2 separate regions of the Homo sapiens genome follow, and region 1 is linked to region 2. Evidence: promoter capture Hi-C in 16 types of primary human blood cells and fetal thymus (Javierre and others, 2016). All regions are on one chromosome and are shown on one strand. The core of a region is centred on a gene start or on the middle of the fragment in contact, and the rest is flanking DNA. Distances in the headings are between cores, read along the strand shown.

Region 1 (2,700 bases), core at 110-2,609, 610 kb before region 2:
CTTGGTGAGCGTTGGTTTATATTTACAATAAATGATTCCTCTAAAGTGTAGGGGGATGGGGAATAGCGTCCCTCGGGCCTAGCAGGCACACCTTCCTTGGGTCAATTCCAGGCCACCACCATTGTTGGATGGTTGGATTCGAACCCGAGTTCAAGGATCTGGGGATTCAGAACGCGGGACAGTAACTCCACACGGGACACAGCGCAAATGCTGGAAACTCGGCCAAGCCTCGGCTCCTCGCGTTAACCCCAGGAGGCTCCTGCCAGTGATCCAAGCAAGTGGGCATGACCCGTGCGAGGGCCCACAGGCTTGCCCGAGTGTGACCTCGGTACTAGCTCAACATCTCGAGGTCTGCTTCTATTCCTGCACATCGGGACTCAGGATCCGGGCAACCTCGCGCCAAGCTCTCCAATGCTGGCTCCCCTCCCCCGCCTAACCGAGAGGCTCAGAGGAATGACGTGGCTCTCCGGGGGCCACAGGGCAGCCCGGGGGGTTGCGGGAAGGGCCCCGGGGGACGCTGGGGGGCGGGCCCCGGCGGGGTCCACGGCCGCTCACCTGGGCGCTCTCCACCTGCCCGTTGACCATGAGTAGAAAGACGCTAGGACTCGCGGTCGCCATGGCAGGTCTGGGGGTGCCGGGGGGACCCACCTAGGCCGCGCGCGGTTGCTAAGAGACGCCGGCGTTGCCCTAGAAACAGACGGCGTAGCGCGCAGGACACGTTTCTTGGCAGCGACACCTTCGCGAAGGCCACGCGAGTGCGCGTGTGGCATGCGCAGGCGCAGTGAACGGGCGCCGTTATAAGGGGGCGGGGCACAAGGGGCGGGGATCCACGCCGAGGCTCCACCCCTCCTTAGGGCAGGTATGACCGAGAGCTGGGGCGGGAGCGTTGACCTGTCGGGTAAAGCCAGCCCTACCGCTCGACTCAGTTGCACGCGCAGGGAGTGTGTGTTCACTCTGACTCGGCCCGGCTCCCCGTCCCCGCCGAAGCGCAGAGGCGAATGAGAGCTGAGTCCTGGGGAGCAGCGCTCCGACTCACGCCCTCAGCAAGCCGAGTGTTTAAAATACATTCAGCCACTAGATGTCGCTGTGGCCCCACCGCGAGGACGCGGAGGGAGGCGCTGCAGAGCACGGGCGACGTGACCACAGCTGTCGGGGCTAACTCTGGAATGCCGGGTGCTCGGAGGAGCCTCCCCAGCTGGGGCCAAGCAGCGTCCAAGCAGGTGAAAAGGATGCGCCCCTGTGGCTTGGAGACGCTTGCCCTCGAAAAAGTTTATTAAACAAACTTGGGAGGGACCTCAAGAATCCTTACATCCAAGCCATCGCTCTTTAGTTCGAAGCTGGGGAAACTGAGGCCCGCAGCGGGCGGCGCCTGGCACCCCAATCAGCCAGCGCTCAGGGGAGTTGCTAGCCAAAATCCACGAATCTGTCAAGATACAGTCTTGTATCTTAGTGGCCTGTCACAGAGTAAGCACTTGGTAACTACTAACTTGTTGATAAATGAATAATTGAAGACATCTCCATTTTACAGAGGAGGAAACAGATTCAGATGGCAAAGGCAGGTAAGTAGCTAAGTCAGGATTCAAACCCAGGACTCCAGAGGCTAACAACCCTCACTGCCTCTGTCTTGTCCTGGGCCAGCCCCAACAGCATCTGTTGGCAGAGGTGTCAAAGGAGACGTTGGAGACATTATCTTGGATCCAGGAAATGAAGGGATTCACAGGTGTGTAGACTCCCGGGAGGCCAGGCTCCGAGCAGGGACCCCAGGTCATCACATTCTGCAGCTTCTAGCTTGGGAGCAGACTAGGGGAGTCCCATCAACCATCTGCACGAGGGAGGGAAGGAGCAGTCTCAGCCCAGCCTGCACCCACTGAACCACCCCCTGCCTAGTGAGCAAAGATATTTGATCAGGGGAGGGAGGCAGCGGGTAACCAGTTCACACATCTGACAAGAGCAGCTGGGGGAGGGGATGGGTGGGCTGGTGGCCCAAGTGCTGCACCCAGAGCCCAAGACAGGGCCCATTTCCCCTCCTGGAGAGGGGGTCATACTCCCTTCTTCCCCCGCTCTGTCCATCTCTTTCCAGTTAAAGTGCTTTCTCCCACACATTCTATCAGTCTCACCCAATTATTTCCTCCCTTTGGCCTTTGAGGCTCGGTGTTGCACACAAGTTAGTTTTCAGCAAAATGCTTGTAGTTATCGAATAACTGGGGGCTCCCAGTAGTTTAAGACCTGGCTATACCAAAGGTGGCCCCACATTCAAATAGGACATAATGGGGGAGTCTCCCCAAGGGGTGGGAAGTTCTAGGGTGGCCTTCAGGGGTACAAATAAGCCCGACCCCTGGGTGTTGGGGAATGGAAGACTCCAGGATAGGATGGGAGGGTGACCAGGCCTAACTTTAACAAGTCTAGTGGCATTAGAAGCGACTTTAGGAGAGGGGTCTCAGGGGCTTGCATAGGGGCTTGCATAGGGCCTGCTGGAATCCTTACCACCAGTTCAAGGGCCCAGTGGAGAGCCTGGTGTACTAGAAGTCCTTGGGCAGGCTGTCCTTCAGGTCAGGACAGTCAGGTTGGAGGAGAAGGTAGTTTCTGCAGATGCTGACACACAGCGATCTCAGCAGGACACTCTGCAGCTCTTGGGGTGGGATGTAGGGATCTGCAATGGGGTGGGGCAGACCCTCAGCCCAGCTGACATCCAGCCGATCT
Region 2 (2,700 bases), core at 127-2,626:
ACTCGAGCCTGGGCAACAAGAGCGAAACTCCGTCTCAAAACAAAAAAAGAAAACAAAACCCATTTCTGTCTGGTACTTTTTTTTTGAGACGGAGTTTCGCTCTTTTTGCCCAGGCTGGAGTGCAATGGTGCTATCTCGGCTCACCGCAACCTCCGCCTCCCAGGTTCAAGCGATTCTCCTGCTTCAGCCTCCCAAGTAGCTGGCATTACAGGCATGCGCCACCACCCTGGCTAATTTTGTATTTTTAGTAGACACGGGGTTTCTCCATGTTGGTCAGGCTGGTCTTGAACTCCCGATCTCAGGTGATCCACCCGCCAAGCCTCCCAAAGTGCTGGGATTACAGGCGTGAGCCACCGCGCCCGGCCTCTGTCTGGTACATTTTATCTGAAGCAACAGGAATTGACAGGAAAAATCACTGCTGTCCACAGACCCATACTTGCTCACTTCGGATATGTATTTTTAATGAAGTGCAACAACGTTACCCAGAATCAAAATTAAGCTGTTTCTACGTAAACATTGGGCAGGTAATACAACTGGAAATCAAAAATGTAAGTAGTTCGTTTGTAAGTTAGGGTTCCAGTAGTTAGCAAACTTGCCAAAGTCATCAAAAGTAGTGGTCTTCCTGTTGGGGAACTTTAGCAATAAGTAATTTTATTTTAGTAACAGCAGTAACTACCCCTCCCCCCAAAGAGGAAATTGGAAGACAGCACTGGGTGAAGAAAACAATTTTTTCACGTGTTGCTTTTAGACATAAAACCCTCAACATTTGGAAACTTCAGACTTCCATAATAAGGTTCTAAAGAGATTTCCTTGATCTTGATCCACGGTCCTCAAAGAAACACAAAAAAACTAACCCCCACCTAAGAACTGTTCTTAACCAAACAGGCAGGAACTTCTATGGGCTTTAGCAATCGCTTCTGAACCAGCGCGACAATACTCCTCTGACCTCGCGCAAGAAGGCCACCTTCTCCCTCCCAGAAGAGTCCCGGAGCAGAGCAAGGCACTCAGGGGGCATCTGCGCCGAGGTCGAGGCTCGCTGAAGGCCTTGCTGCCGCCTTGGGGAAAGCCCTCGCAGGCCCACCTGCCCCACCGCCGCCCCTGAGGCCCGGCCTGACTCCCCGCCGGCGCCCCCTCAGCTACCTTTCCGCCGGAAGAAGGACATGGCGGGGCCCGGGTCGGGACGGAGGGTGCGGGGGGACTGGCGCGGGGAGGGCCCGGCTCCCCTCATTCAGCAACCGGCCCGGACTTCCGGGTCCAGAGGGGCCGCTGCACTAGCGCGAAAAGGGACCCTTCTTCCGGGAGTGGGCCCCACCGCCTCCTCGGGATGCCCAGGCAGCTCCAGCCGCCATATTATCAACAAGCCGCCCGCCCGGAGTTCCGGTCCTTCCCCGCGCTAGGCTTCACGGGAGGTCAAGCGCCGGCCCCGCCCCTTTTCCCCATCCCCCTCCCGCGGGTGCAGGGGCGCACGCCCGCATCGCCCACGTGACCCGCGCGTGCTACCCGCGCCTCTTTCCCGGGCCCTGGGTGCCTGGAGCGAGCCACCGTTCCTGCAGCTGTTTTGTGGCGTCTGTCGCCGGCCCCCGGTGGAGCGCTGCAGACCCAGTCTCTGCAAAACTAACTCCCTGGGGCGGGAGCCCTCCCAGCAGCTGGAACGGGGCGGGCCTTAGGTCCCCGGCTTCCGGCCCCTGGGTACCCTTCAAATTGTGCCCTTCTAAAAGGCAGGGTCAACCCTGCCACGCTCCAGCTCGACCCCTCCTGCTCCTCCGTTTGAGTTTTGCTCACAGGCGCTGGCCGGCACGAGCAGCTTCACCCTGCACCCCAGTCCCTGCTTCCTCAGGAGAACCCGCCACGGCCTGCGGGTTCGAGGCGATGCAGAACCCTGATTAGGAAAAGGCACAACCTGCCGCATGCGGAACCAGCAGCTCCCTGGATCATTAGCGAATGAAAAGGGGAAGCGGGCTTATTTCGGAGTGCAGTCCCTGCGAATGCTCAACTTTGTAAGGGACTGCAACATAAAAGCCTCGCCAGTATTTAAAAGCTAGCTCCAGTGAATCATCCTTGCTCAAATGCCATTTTCCTGTGAATCTTCTGACCCTCTACTCCCAAAGCAAAATCAATCAAGCCTCCCTGTCTTTGGTGCTTCTTAACACCCGGCGAGTGCGCTCAGCGGCTGAGGTTGTAACTGCTCCCTGGGGTTGGGGTTGGGGAGGGCAGGAAGGTAATAGTAACTCAATAAATGTTCGCTGGGGTTTTTAAACCAATGAAGTTTATCATGTGACGGATGGGGAAACAGGCCCAGAAGAGACAACTAGCCCAAGATTGTTCAGAATGTTAGAAATACCAAAATTGTTAGAAATAGATAATCGGTGCCACGAAGAAAAGTCAGCACGGAGACAAAAGATCTCCAGCAAGGCAATCTTTACTTTCTGCAGAAAGGGTGCTCAATCGCAGATGGAACGATGTCGAGAGCACACCTGAACAAAGGAAAAGCAAACATATTTATCCCTTACGCATTTGGGTCGTCCTCACTGCTATGTCCTGCATCCATTGGCTGGAGCGGGACCTCACACTCTTAAACTGATAGCCGATTTGCTAATAGCCTAAAACTTTCTAAATAGGTAAGTGCAAGGAAGAACGAAGAAGGAGAGGAAGTTGCTTACCGAAAGGTTTAAGGAAGCAATAACATTTCCAAATAAGGAA

Evidence for each region. The method cuts DNA at HindIII sites, captures the fragments that hold promoters and counts their contacts. A CHiCAGO score of 5 or more calls a contact.
Region 1: a contact is called between a fragment that was not itself captured here and the fragment with the promoter of AKAP10 in region 2, in 1 of 17 cell types (naive CD4 T cells). The highest score is 5.0, in naive CD4 T cells.

The regions. Positions count from the first base shown.
Region 1 is chr17:19,361,952-19,364,651 of GRCh38, forward strand. It overlaps B9D1 (B9 domain containing 1), which reads right to left and starts at 772. Exons shown (of 7, transcript NM_015681.6): 1 at 556-772. The coding sequence starts at 618. It overlaps LOC105371573 (a long non-coding RNA gene), which reads left to right and starts at 826. Exons shown (of 3, transcript XR_934302.4): 1 at 826-1,220; 2 at 1,529-1,559. RefSeq lists enhancers at 232-371, 831-1,615, 1,172-1,241 and a silencer at 412-681. The HindIII fragment of the contact is 3,031 bases long and covers 1-2,700 here.
Region 2 is chr17:19,976,452-19,979,151 of GRCh38, forward strand. It overlaps AKAP10 (A-kinase anchoring protein 10), which reads right to left and starts at 1,377. Exons shown (of 15, transcript NM_007202.4): 1 at 1,141-1,377. The coding sequence starts at 1,228. RefSeq lists a silencer at 1,085-1,274 and an enhancer at 1,747-2,460. The HindIII fragment of the contact is 5,200 bases long and covers 1-2,700 here.